2 separate regions of the Homo sapiens genome follow, and region 2 is linked to region 1. Evidence: promoter capture Hi-C in 16 types of primary human blood cells and fetal thymus (Javierre and others, 2016). All regions are on one chromosome and are shown on one strand. The core of a region is centred on a gene start or on the middle of the fragment in contact, and the rest is flanking DNA. Distances in the headings are between cores, read along the strand shown.

Region 1 (6,781 bases), core at 749-3,248:
GATAGCCTCTTCAACCACTGTTCACTTCAATCAGATCTGATTAAAAGAAGGCTGAAATATCATTTTGCAACTGAAAATGGCATTTAAACATAAACAAGCCAACCACTCAGATGCGGTCTTAAGGCAACTGCCCTGAGCGCAGTTACAGCAGAAGCTCCACTCGAGCTTATAACCTACTATGGCTGGCTGAGTGCAGGCTTACAAAAGTAGAACGATTCTGTGGTTAAAGGGAGGAAAATTAGAGAGTCAGGTTATAGACATCTAAAAGGTAGCCCAGTTGATATCAGTTTTGGTAATCACCATCCACCCAGACAGCCTCAAACACGTGCAAATCAGTGGTATTACTCCTTCACCCTCAGGCCTCCTCATGCCCACTTAACACCCGAGTGCTCTCGGATTCGAACGCAGTGTCCTTCACCCGGACCAGAAAATTGTGGAGAATATGAAGTGGGTGGCAAAATTATTTATGGACTAAGGCAGGACTAGCAAAATGGGTAGAAAGAGAGGCTGCTCTACAAATAGGAGAGTTTGGCAAAAAGCCTGTGTTTTGGATGTTATTCGGTTCTCTGGACGTGTGTCCTCCCTTTGACCTCCTTTTCCCAGCACACAGTAGTCACAAATCTTTTACGCGGGGTTAGGTGCACCCTACCCCCGCCCCCAGCCCGCTCAAACTGGATTCAACGGGTAAAGAACACCATTCTGTTCTCTGAACGCAGGCCCCCAGCCTTTCAAAATTCGTACTCACCTCTGCCATTGGGATAGAGAAGGCAGATCTGAGGTGTTCTTAAACGCGCTGTTTAAAACCCAAAATGTCCCCGCCCTCAAAACCACACACTTTCTTTTTGGGGGTAGAAAGATGCCATTTAAGGAAAAAAAGGTATATCCTCCAAGTTTCTTTGGAGGGAAAAGGCGTTGGTTAAATCATTCGGGTGTCAGGACTTTTCTACCGGATTTCCTCCAGAGGGTTTCCCAGTTGTGGAACAAGGGTGACCAGTGGAGTGTCGGGTATCAGGGTCCATCCGCCCCCTAGACCAGCTCTGGACTAGGCTTCAAACAGCCCTCCAGCGCGGCCCTGCTCCGCGCTTTCTCTAGCCAGCACCCACGTGTCTCTATTTACTCTACTCAGGTTACCAGCTCTATCGCCCGCAGCGGGCCAGAAGACCCGATAAAGCGCCTTCCACCCTGCAGGACTAGTGCCCGGCTTCCGCTGCTTCTCCGCCTTTCTTCTGCGTAGATTTAAGGCCTGATCCGGTCCCAAACCCCAAATAAAAGTTGTGGGTTTGTTTCCAAGTGATGGCGGTTGGAGAAAACTAGAGTTGGGGGCGGTACAGCCAGGGTGTACCCTTGCGGTGGGTCGGCTCGGCGCACCCACAGCTCCCAGCTGCTAGCCCAGGCGCTGGGGCCGCAGGGACTGAACCCCGCACCGCCCCCGCAGCCCGGGTGCGCGCCCCATCGGCCGGCCTGCTCCCCGCGGCCCGGCTCACCGGTGGTAGGGACGGCCCCGCCTGCCCCAGCCCACGCCCGCCTCCCCTTCCTCCCGCCTGTGGCTCTGCTCGTCTCCACCTAAGCCTTTGGTGGTTTAACGCACTTTTGCAGAGACATCTACCAAGAGATAGCGTGTGCACTTTGTTTTCCGTCCCACGGAAGAATTTATCAGTAGCGTTATTCAGCCCTACTCGCTTTAAAGCACGGCACCCCTCAGCCCAACAAAAAGACCGAAGGCGAAACATTGTGGGTTCCTGCCCGCGAACCAACCGTTCAGCCACCGAACCCCCTAAACTGATCCATTTGGAATAAGTTACCCTGCCCCTCTACCTCCCATCCTACACACACACACACACACACACACACACACACACACACACACACTGCGGACCGGGGGCCCAGCTACGCACACACCCCAAAACAAACGAGGGATCTACTCGGGACCCTCAGCCGGGCGGCCGGGCGCCTTCGTTCCCTTCCTCCCTCTCTGAGTTTCCCAGGGACCCGCCACGCCTCTCGGAACTGGGGCAGCGGCCCGCTCACCTCGTGTCCGTTGCTGGCCGGGATGATTTCAGACTCGTTCACCAAGGAAGACTTGATGTCAGCTAAATCGCCTTCCTCTTCGGGATGACTGATCTCGGCGAAGATCTTTTCCTTCTGAGGATCGCCCTCGTCCTTGAAGGGGATCATCTCGTCCGTGGCGCAGAGTTCCGGGTCCCCCCCGCCGCCGCCACCTCCTCCGGAGAGTTGGGGCATCCCGGCGGCTCTGTAATCTCCGCTCCGCTGTGGGAGCACCCGCGCAACAGCAGGAAAGACAGAGGGGTAACTCAAGGGTGGGGGAGGAAAGGAGAGTTGGAAGGGTTCGTGCAGCAGGACAGCGGGCGGAAGCGGGGCGGGCGAGCGCGGGGCCGCCGGCCGGCAGCCGGAGCAGCTGCCGCGGCGCCCGAATCCCGGCGGCCGCCGCGCTTTCCCGCTTCGCGGAGACCGACGCAGGCGCCCGCCCCCGAGGCCGAAGGGCACTGGGCGGCGAGGGCTGCGGTAGCTGGCGACTCCGGGGGCGTCTGCGCGGCGCGCGCTAGACGAGGCTGCCCCGGCGGCCACCCCGCGACCCCGCGTCGCCGGGATTTGCGCGCGGAGAACGCCGGTTCTGGAGGGAGCACGCCTCCCCAAAGTGCAGAGGAGGGTCCGGCGGCGCGTCTCCGCGGAAACCCTCTCCACTGTAGTTACCCCGGATGCCGACTTAGTAGTTTGTTTTCCGAGAAAAGAGAGGGGATCTGGGCAGAAGGGCCCCGTTTGCCCCAAAAGAAGGTGCAAGGATCAGAAGATAACGAAACGTCCACTTCCTGAAGGGTGGGAAAAAAAGAAAAAGAAAAAGGAGCCACCCACGCTGGAGATGTCCGTTTTAGATCTTCTTATTTTCTTCCCTTTCGCTTCGGTTTTTCTTCTCGAGGCTCATTTAATCTGCTAGAGAAGGAGGAGGAGCAGAAGATGGGGGCCGAGGAGGAGGGGAAGAGAAAGAGAAGTTTGCCAAGAATAAAGTTTTTGCCGGCAAGCGCGGGGACTCCGCAGTGGAGGGCACTGCGGAGTCTCGGGGAGTCACAGCGGGGGCCTCGGGCCCAAATGCCTCTGCCCGGAGCTCGAGCCGACACACACACTCAGTCCGACCCCTCTTTGTTCCCGGCTCGAGTTTCTCAGCCTGGCTCGCCGGCTCGCCGCTCTGCACGCCTCCGCCGGCCAGCTCTGTCAAAGCAAAGAGCTGCGCCCCTTGAGTTCGCCCGGCCGAGGGGAGGGGACGCCCCGAGCTTGGCCGCGTGCGAGGCTCCGGGCGCGTCCTGGTTCCTCGGCCCGAGAGCGCGCAGCCCGGGTCCCTCCTCCGCGCCCTGCCCCGCAGGTGAGCGGCTGCGCCTCCCCACTGCTTCTCCTCCTCCCGCGCCTCGCCGGCGCTGAAAAGCTACCCACTTGCGTCGCTTCTCCTCCCTCTCCCCTCCCCCGCCTCTAGCTCTCCTTGGCTGCCCGCTGGAGGGGAGGCGGGGGGTGAGGGGGAGTCGGCGAGAAGGAGGTGGTGATTGAGGGCTTTTTTTTCTTTTTCTTTTCCCAGATCCTGTAGGACGAGTCTTGGTTTTGGGGTGTGTGAGTGTGGTGTGTGCGCGCGCGCCTGGAGGGAAGGATCAGGCAACTTGGCGAGAGAAGGAAGGACCGGGCGCTGCTTATAACCCACCGAAAGGCACGCTTTGCCCGCGTGAAACTGACAAGAAACATTGCCGCAGTGGCTTGACTTCATCATCTAAGTATCTATTTACTTGGCCCCCACCCACCCACTCCTTTTCCTCTGCCAGTCTCTCCCCTACCTCCTTGACGCCTCCCACTCTCCCTCCCTGGCTCTGGCAGAGGGAGGAAGATGAAAGAGAAAGCCGCTGCCGCTGTGATGGACACCACATTGATAGATGCTCTGACAGTGGGGAGAGGCGGGAATCTGGGACTGAGAAAAAAAGGAAAAGGGGAAAATATAACAGACATTGCTCAACTATTAAGAGAGAACAGAAGGACAAGGAAAAGAGAGTTGTAGCTTTCCCGAATATAATATCACACACACGCTCTTTGGAGACAAGGGAACACACTAGTGAAAATAAAATCTCTAGGCTTACGGAGAAAAAATATGACGAGGAAGAAGGAACTGAAGACTAGATTTTAATTATTGCTTTTTAAACAATATATCTTTCATTCTGTTCTCACCACGGGATGTACGGAGAGTTGTGCTAGGTCTCCAGTGGGTTTTCAGAGACACACACCGCAGTGTGTGGGAACCTCATCGAGAATGAAAAGATAATCCAAGAAGGGGGAAGAGAAGGCAAAAGGACTCAGGAGAGCAAAGCCAGAAGAGGGAGGGAGGACGGGGTAGTCCCTGGCACCTTGGACTGCGAACTGAAAGGGACCCTTGAAGACACCAATCCGAATACAACCTCAAAAATTCCCCAGTCTCCACTGTCTCTTTGATGAATTTTGTACAAAGACAGGAGTTTTCAGGAGATACTTTGTGAAAGTTACAGCAGAAGGGAAGCTGAAGTTTGAAAACACATTACATTTTGTCCCTTGGTTCTCAAACCCCCTCAGTTAAAAATCTAGGCAAAATTATTATATCCAATACAGTAACCATCTGTAAAACTTCAGAACAGTAAACAAAGGACATAAAGAAATGTATCTTCATCTCCCTTAAATCGAAAACAAGCAAAACACTACAGAATCAGATTTTGCTCCATTATATAGGAATTGTCTGGCAAAGATCCCTCTTTTTTTCCTAAAGGTGAAATTTCAGGCTGCTGAACATTGAATGGGTAAAGATTTTTACAATGCTGTATCTAAGTGAGCACTAATGACTTCACCTACTAATAACGACTACTTCTTGGGAATAAGAATTTACTAGGAAGCAATTTTTAAAACTTTACAAAGGATCCAATTGGTCCCTACAACATGGCCAGTAGTCACATGTAAATTCTATCTGGAAGATTGGGGTGAAATTAAGGGGTTGGTGAAGGAATCCAGGAAAATTAAAACATTAAATCCATTTTTAATAGCTGACAATGCTATGCCTCAAGAGAAGAAAAAGAGTATATTCTGCTACAGTGTGTGAGAAACCCAATTTTTGTTTTTGGATGATGGTGGTATGTCACTTCCCTTAAAGTTAGGCACCAGTGTGAGTAGTGTCCCAGAGAGGTGAACGTGTAGCTGTGTCAGACATTTATAGCCCCATTCTTAAAAGACACATGGGAAAACAGTCAAAAGTCCTCCCATAACTGCACCAATTTGACCAATAGGAAAACAAGTGGAAAATGCAGTTTCACCAAAGCAGAGTAGAGGTTCCTTTTCATCAAACCCTCAGGAGGGGGAGGGGAGAACACAGAATGGCCAGGGGGTACTTTCTGGAAGCCGAAGAGAGATTAAATGATGACTCTTACATCCCCCCCGCTGTTTAAGTGCTGAAACTAATTCAGATCCCACTTTCTCCTTCATGTTAACTCTGGATTCCCCGAGTAATTTGGAGCCTATGCTCCAGGTTTCCTGAAGATTAGAAGCTCAAGAAGATGGGAATTTTTAGAACAATAACTAGGGGAAACTGTTTACTTGAAGGGCCAAGGGTAGGGGGCTGCGTTTGGTATTTTACTGAGACCCCGTCCATTGAAAACATTGTTTCTAACGAAATCACCCAGCACCTTGCTCTATTTGCGTGGCTGTTTTCCTTACAGTGGTGTAACTTGTGTTAGCTGATTGTCTTTAGGATTGTTGTAAATCTTCTGATGAGCAGCACTTAGAAGGGGCTTTAGTAAAAACCATGCGCCCCAAATTTCTAAAGCTTCGTTTGGGAGAGAGGTTGACATTTGCACATGAAGTCTGTCTTTTGGAAACAGCAGGAGGACGCAGGAGGGGCGAAGTAACCCCGGGAAGACGTTCTTCCCCCTCCCTTACGGATTCAGTGTAGTTCCTGGCATAAGCAATTCTGTCACCGGGCGGTCTTTTCTAATTCGTGTGGGGGCTGATATTAACATAAGCAGCCGCCTCTTCGGGTGCGAGTGGGATCCCAGGTCCGGGATGTGGTGGGTGCGGTGCGGGAGAGGCACCCGCCGCCCCCTTCACTCGGATGTTAGAGGCAAGTTGTTCGTGTGAACTCGAGCGAACGACTGGAGGTTGGCTGTTGTAGGTTCACTCCTTCAGGATGTGGGTTTCAGGGGGCGTTTTGATGTGATTTAATTCCGACCGTGAAAACAATTGCTAGGGGCTGGCTGGATTGCTGTTGGTTTTTCCCCTCCTGGTGGCTTTGCTTGGTTTGGGTTTAGTTTGGGAACAAACTTGTTTTATATCAACACTTCCTTCTACATCGGGCGCCGTCGCCTCAACTGCGCGTGGGGGGCGAGGCGCCCACCCCGCACAAGAACAGAGGAGCGGGGGAGAAGAGACGGCCTCGCTGCTCACTGGGTAAGCGGAGCCCAGCCCCGCTCGGGAGCGGGCAGGAGAGACAGGGTAGTGACCCCCACTCACACCAGAAAACCCCTCCCCCCGGCGATTTTGCTGCCAACTCGAGTCGGCTACAGACAGTCCAGTGAGTCCTTAATTACAAGGACGAGAGAAAAGCACGGTGCCCCTCGAGTCCTCTCCGCCCCCTCGGTCCTAACCCCCGCCCAGGCTCCAGGTCTTCCCCTTTGTGTGGCCTGGACTCTCTCCCAGCTACGACTTTGGTGGGATCCAAAAGGAAGGAGGTGGCGGGGCCTACGGAAGAGGATACCCAGGAGCCAGGGAGAAGGGC
Region 2 (7,119 bases), core at 3,988-6,487, 1.4 Mb after region 1:
AGTTTGCTAATCCCACCTTTGTGGCCAGATTCTGTGCTGCAAAACGGACATCTCCTCCCCCTCTTCTCCATTCCCCTCCTTCCTAATAAGACTCTTTTCTGGAGAACTGAGGTCAACATCAGATTTCAAATATTTAAAGTGGATACAAAACTATTTCAGCAATGCAGACAATTAGTTGCATTGTTGTGGTCAATGCAGTTGTTGGTAAAACATGTCTCCTGATATCCTACACAACAAATTTCCATCCTAATAGATACAGACTGTTTTTGACAACTATGCACTCACAGTTAGGACTGGTGCAGAGCCATATACTCTTAGACTTTTAATTCTGCAGGGCAAGAAGATTATGACAGACTATAACTCCTGAGTTATCTACACAGATATATTTCTAGTCTGTTTCTCAGTGGTCTCTCCATGTTCATTTTAAAGTATGAAAGAAAAGTGAGGGCCTGAGATAACTCACCACTGTCCAAAGGCTCCTTTCTTGCTTGTCACAACCCAAATTGATCTCAGAGGGTCTATTATTGAGAAAATTACCAAGAACAAATAGAAGCCTATCACTCCAGAGACTGCTGAAAAGCCGGCCCACAACCTGAAGGCTGTCAAGTATATGGACGGTCCTGTACCCACACAGCAAGATCTAAAGAATGGATTTGACAAAGCAATATTGGCTGTCCTGGAGCCTCCAGAACTGAAGAAGAGCTGGAAGCCTATGCTGCTATGAACATCTCTCCAGAGCCCTTTCTGCACAGCTGGTGTAGGCATCATACTAAAAGCAATGTTTAAATCAAACAAAAGATTAAAAATTAAAATTCATTTATGCAATAATGACAAATACCCTGCACCAACCCACATGCATCCATGTGAGACAGGGATTAGAGGTATGGCCCACTTCTCCCTCCCAATACTAGTTAATTCTGAGTAATTGTGTATTGTTAGAAAAGTGATCAGTACTCATTTTTGGTTTTTGTTTCAAAAAACAATTTTGTTTTTACTTAAAAGCAAGGCATGCTTGTGATGACTGTGTAACAGACTAATTGGAATTGTTGAAGCTGCTCCCTGGGTCCATTCTGGAGGGTAATCTGGGACATCTTAGTGGGGTTTTATTTTTTTCTTTTTTGGAGGAGGAGTGTTTGTAGGGTTTGTTTTTTAGTCTTTTTTCTTTTCTTTTCTTTTCTCTTTTTTAATTCATTAACCAGTGGTCAGTCCTTAAGAGGAGAAGGACGGATTGACTCCATATTCGACTTCCTAAATCTAGTTTAAAAAACATGTTCCCTATCTGGGGTGCTTTTAGGAAAGAATATAGTAAATGCCTTATTTAATAACATACCTCTTTTTGAAAGTTACCTTTTCTCTCCACCCTTGAGTAGGCTCAGTATTTGATGAAACTCATGAAAGTGGGTGAAAATTCTCTTGCCCCTGTTCTTTTCTGGGATGCACTAAATATGTGACTGTGACTTTCAAGGAAATTTGTTTGCCGGTTGCTGATTTTTGGGGAAGTTAATTTCTAACTTCTTTAACTGATGAATAAAGAAAAGTATTGCACCTTTGAAATGCAACAAGTGGATTGAGTTTGTAACTTAAAAAAACTTTTTTCCCTGTCAGTCATTGTCTTATATTATTATAGATTTGCAATCAATAGTATATGATGTTTCTAGAATGCAGCTGAAGACCTGGTATGTAGAGGCAATGTGAAGAGCGGTAGCAGAAGACCGACATCTATGGAATGATTCACAGCCTCTCAAGTTATAAGGATGGAGACCTGCTTCATGAAGAAGTTGGGGTGTGGTGGGGATGGATAGAACACTTAACAACATGAGATCAGTCAGGGGAATCTCCTCACTTCTGTGTAGCAGACGAGGAACCCAAGAGCCCCCAAATGAGGCTCTCTGGTTTGTTTTTTTTTTTGAGATGGAGTCTTGCTCTGTCGCCCAGGCTGGAGTGTAGTGGCACAACCTCGGCTCACTGCAACCTCTGCCTCCCCGGGGTCAAGCAATTCTCCTCCCTTAGCCTCCCGAGTAGCCAGGACTACAGGCACGTTCCACCACGCCCGGCTAATTTTTGTATTCTTAGTAGAGACAGGGTTTCACCAATGTTGGCCAGGCTGGTCTTGAACTCCTGATCTTGTGATCCGCCCGTCTTGGCCTCCCAAAGTGCTGGGATTACAGGCATGAGCCACCACGCCTGGCTGGCTCTCTGGTTTAATAAAAATTGTGTAAAGAATCTTATTGAAAGGTGACAATGTGCTGGCGGCCCTCGCTGGCTCTCAGCGCCTCCTTGGCCTCAGAGTCCGCTCTGGCCATGCTTGAGGAGCCCTTCAGCCCGCTGCTGCACTGTGGGAGCCCCTCTCCAGGCTTGCGGAAGCTGGTACCAGCTCCCTCTGCTTGCAGGGAGGTTGAGGGAGAGACGCGGGTGGGAACCGGGGCTGCATGTGGCCTTGCGGGACAGCGCGAGTTCCGGGTGGGCGTGGGCTCCGTGGCCCCGCACTCGGAGGGCGGCCGGCACCCCCGGCCCGGGCAGTGAAGGGCTTAGCACCTGGGCCAGCAGCTGCAGAGGGGGGCGTCAGGTCCCCCAGCACTGCCAGCCGGCCCGCGCCACGCTCAAATTCTCACCAGGCCTCAGCCACCTCCCCATGGGGCAGGGCTCGGATCTGCAGCCCGCCATGTGCAAGTCCCCCCGCGGTGGGCTTCTGCTAGGCCCTAGCCTCCCTGAGGGGCACCGCCCCTGCCTCAGCGGCGTCCAGTCCCATTGACTGCCCAAGGGCTGCTGAGTGCAGGCACGAGGCACGAGCGCAGGACTGGCAAGCAGCTCAGCCCGCAACCCTGGCATGGCATCCACTAGGGGAAGCCAACTGGGCTCCTGAGAGGGGTGGGGACTTGGAGAACTTTTATGTCTAGTTAGAGGATTGTAAATGCACCAATCAGCACTCTGTCTAGCTAAAGGTTTGTAAATGCACCAATCAGTGCTCTGTGTCTAGCTCAGGGTTCGTGGATGCACCAATCAGCACTCTGTATCTAGCTAATCTCCTGGGGACTTGGAGAACCTTTATGTCTAGCTAAAGGATTGTAAACACACCAATCAGCACCCTGTGTCTAGCTCAAGGTTTGTAAATGCACCAATCAGTGCTCCGTGTCTAGCTAATCTAGTGGGGACTTGGGGAACCTTTATATCCAGTTAAAGGATTGTAAATACACCAATCAGCACTCTGTATCTAGCTCAGGGATTGTAGACACATCAATCAGCACCCTGTCAAAACGGACCAATCAGCGCTCTGTAAAATGGACCAATCAGCAGGATGTGGGTGGGGCCAGATGGGGGAATAAAAGCAGGCTGCCAGAGCCAGCAGTGGCAACCTGTCTGGGTCCCGTGCCACGCTCTAGAAGCTTTGTTCTTTTGTTGTTTGCAATAAATCTTGCTGCTGCTCACTCTTTGGGTCTGCACTGCCTTTATGATCTGTAACACTCACCGTGAAGGTTTGCAGCTTCATTTCTGAGGCCAGTGAGACCCGAACCCACTGGGAGGAATGAACAACTCCGGACGCGCCACCTTAAGAGCTGTAACACTCACTGCCAAGGTCTGCAGCTTCACTCCTGAAGCCAGCGAAACCACTGAACCCACCAGGAGGAAGAAACTCCAAACATGTCCGAACATCAGAAAGAACAAACTCCGGACACGCTACCTTTAAGAACTGTAACACTCACCACCAGGGTCCGCGGCTTCATTCTTGAAGTCAGTGAGACCAAGAACCCACCAATTCAGGACACATTATCAAGATTCTTCACAAATGTTAATAGGGATTTTTATCAGTTTTAGTTGTAGTTTCCAATTTCTAAAAATGTTCAGGTAATTTTTTTACACCTTTCAGAACCTAGCTCATGAGTGTTGAATCAATGCTTTTTCATGTCAATTCTTTGTATAGGCATTCTTTTCAGTTGTATTAAACAAGAACCCTTCACAACAAAAAAACAAAAATACACGCTTCTTTCACTTGGAGCACTAGCTAATAGGAGGAAAAGATTCAGGTAAGGTAATTTACCTTCCCATATGAACTTAAAGTTTCATGTGTCACTCTCCATCTGGGGCAACTGTATTTTGAAAGACATGCTAGTTAACACAGGTGAATCAGCCTTTAATAGTGATAAAGTTTTTACTATAGTAGAAACTTGTGATTCTTTCCCTTTTCAATAAGGAAAGGAGATTACCGCCAGGAGTGATTTGCCACTTATTGCAGGTTTGCCAATTTTGATTCATTAACTGAACCCTCTTGCAGATTCAGGAGATAAAAATGCGGAGTGCCCAGTTAAATTTGAATTCAGATAAACACCAAATAATTTAGTATATCCCAGATATTTCATTTTTAAAATAATAAATGTGACCCATGCAATATTTGGGACATACTTCACTATTTGTATCTAAAATTCAAGTTTAACTGGGCATCCTATATTTTATCTAACAACCCTACTGTAATTGGTTTAGGTTGCTCTTTAATGCCTTTGGTTTGCTTTCAAAAATAAGTAGTCTCAAAACAAAGCATCCGATTTCCCAGTAGTTAGAAGAACTCAATACCGGTTCCGAAGCTTCTTCAATTAAAAACGTGCTTCAAAAGAGAAGCCAATTCTGTGGGAGATACTTTCCCAAAAAACTCGGGTTTGGGCCCCTATACCGTGAACTACAAACCTCCGCAGGGGTAGGCCCGGGCTGCCCGCCTCACACCGCACTCGCCAGCGAGCAGGGGCCCGGCACCGCAGCCCGGGGCAGAGGCCTTGGAGGTTGTGGAGGTGGGAGAGGCCTCGGCCGACCCGCTTCAATCCGTCTTCTCCAAGCTCGGTGGGGAAAACAAACTTCCTGAGCGGCCCTGCCCCCTCCAGATGCCGGACGCTGTTTTCGTCTCATCCCCGTCTGGGTTGGATGGCGAAGACGGCGCTCAGAGCACGCAGCACCGGGAATTAACAGCGAGTTTTGAAATCTAGAGCTCGCAAGGTGTGCGTCGCCTGCTGCTGTTCATTCCAGAGGGTCTTCTGCTGGAGAAGGAGGGGGCCCTCGACCTCGGGCTCCCGCTCTCGGGCTCCCGCTCTCTCGCTCTCTTTTTTTTTTTTTTTTTTGGTCGGAGGAAAGAAAACAGCCCTGCGCCCGGATGCGTAGAGAGCCGACAAGTGGAAACAGGGACACACCCTCCCGTGAGCCCGCCCAAGCTGGAGCCGCGGCGCGCTGAGCGAGCAGGCGGGGCGGGAGCGCCCACAGCTCGGAGCCACCAGGCGCTGACGAGGAGCCCGGCTGAGGGAGGATGCGCCGCTGACGCCTGCGGGAGCCGCGCGCCTGGGGCGGGAGGATGCTCCAGAGGGGCCTCTGGCCGTGGCGCACGCGGCTGCTGCCGACCCCTGGCACCTGGCGCCCAGCGCGCCCGTGGCCGCTGCCGCCTCCGCCCCAGGTAAGAGCGGGTGCCGGGCTGTGGGGGTTCGGGGTAGGCTGGTGCAAAGTTTGCGTTGGACAACTTTGGCGGGAGCAAAAGCCGAGCGGCCGAGCAGTCAACTGCGTTTTGCTGGCTGCCGGGCTCCGCGCGCCGGGCGGTCCCGACAGGTGGTGGCCGGGCGGCCGACGTGGGTCACGGAGGCCTGGGCTGAGGTCAAGACTCCGGGCCCGGGGAAGGTGAAGCCAGAGCGCTGCGGCTGGGGGTGCCTCACCCGGGCCGAGATAGGGTGCGGGGACCACCAGACTTCGGCCTGGGAGCAGCAGAATAACCTGGGAGGCAGTTTCTGGGCTGCAGCTCTCGGTCAGGAGCAAGTTTCCAAAGCCGCTGCGCCGCGGGGCCGGTTCCCTCTTGGTGATCAGTGCCCGAGCCCCTAAGGAGCCCGGAAACGATGAACGGGGCAGTGACCGTCCCGGGTGTGGACGGTCGCAGGAGAGTGAAATTTCCATCCTGAAATCTGCGAGCACCTCCCTTTCCCAGAAGGAAGAAAAACTCGCGTTTTGTTCAGACACCCGAGAGACGGGTGAATCATGAGTGTGCTGGTGAGTAACAGTTGGCCTGACACCGTTGTATTGTGGTCTGTGGAGAACCGTGGCTTGGAGGAGTAGAGAGTGGATGTGCACCAAAAAAGACTAGAAGAAGGGGAAAGCGCTGAGTTTAAGGAGGATTGCGATGGAGCCTGACAGGAGCCCGGGAGTGCAAACTCTGACCCAGATGAGGAAAGACAGCCAAAGCCTTCAGGGTGTGTGTGGTTGGGGAGGGAGCTGTTTCTGAGTTTTCGTTTGTTCCTCCCCCACACTGTTAAGATTACTTTCAGATTGTTAAAGGCTTAAAAGCCAAAAAGTAAGCAGTGTGATTCTCTTGTCACTTTCACTTCCTGTTTATTTTGTTCTTTTTTTTCCTTCCCCCCCTTTTCCTCCAGCTGTCTGAGGGCTTCAGTTTCAATTGATGCAGGGAATATTTAAGTGCATTTTTTTTTCCTTTTCATTGAGCTTGTGACCAAAGGATTAAGTGCATTCAGAAAATCAATTCCAGGAATGTTTGAAAGAGAATGAGGAAGGCCATGTTGTTACTAAATGTAAGAACAGGGGCAAACTCCTTAAAATGTAAAATGGTAGACTTATAAAGTCATTGGGGAGATGGGCTTTTTATACTTTTAAAGGTTGTACTTTTACTGTAAGTGTTGCATTGTGTAGTCAAAGAGATACCAAACATTAAAACAACCCAATACGAGGAACCCCTTTCACATGCCATTTTAAACACAGATTATTGTTTTTTGTTGTTGTTTTTGGAGACGGAGTCTTGCTCTGTTACCCAGGCTGGAGTGCAGTTGTGCGATCTCGGCTCACTGCAACTTCCGCCTCCTGGGTTCAAGCGATTCTCCTACCTCAGCCTCCCCAGAAAATAGGATGACCGGCGCGCGCCACCGCACCCGGCTAATTTTTGTATTTTTAGTAGAGACGGGGTTTCACCATGTTGGCCAGACTGGCTGGTCTCGAACTCCTGACGTTGTGATCCGCCCGTCTCAGCCCCGCAAAGTGCTGGGATTACAGGGGTGAGCCACCGCGACCAGCCCCAAGTGTTTTCTATTAAGTCCATTTAACACGTTGAGTAGCATTTTTGTGGATCCCGGGACTGGCTGCCCTTTCTCA

What was found. Contacts are between HindIII fragments. The CHiCAGO score rates a contact against its expected background, and 5 or more counts as called.
Region 2: a contact is called between the fragment with the promoter of MCUB here and the fragment with the promoter of LEF1-AS1 in region 1, in 2 of 17 cell types (non-activated CD4 T cells and naive CD4 T cells). The highest score is 5.9, in non-activated CD4 T cells.

What each region holds. Positions count from the first base shown.
Region 1 is chr4:108,165,527-108,172,307 of GRCh38, forward strand. LEF1-AS1 (LEF1 antisense RNA 1) reads left to right here and starts at 1,999. Exons shown (of 3, transcript NR_029374.1): 1 at 1,999-2,307. LEF1 (lymphoid enhancer binding factor 1) reads right to left here and starts at 3,406. Exons shown (of 12, transcript NM_016269.5): 1 at 2,029-3,406. The coding sequence starts at 2,241. LOC124900752 reads left to right here and starts at 2,413. Exons shown (of 2, transcript XM_047416528.1): 1 at 2,413-3,376; 2 at 3,584-5,444. The coding sequence starts at 2,974. The coding sequence ends at 4,170. RefSeq lists silencers at 1,360-1,599, 3,356-3,405 and enhancers at 1,477-1,978, 3,006-3,095, 5,166-5,796. The HindIII fragment of the contact is 8,163 bases long and covers 1-5,831 here.
Region 2 is chr4:109,555,009-109,562,127 of GRCh38, forward strand. MCUB (mitochondrial calcium uniporter dominant negative subunit beta) reads left to right here and starts at 5,238. Exons shown (of 8, transcript NM_017918.5): 1 at 5,238-5,428. The coding sequence starts at 5,330. It also overlaps the pseudogene CDC42P4. RefSeq lists a silencer at 5,185-5,504 and an enhancer at 5,925-6,124. The HindIII fragment of the contact is 4,460 bases long and covers 4,576-7,119 here.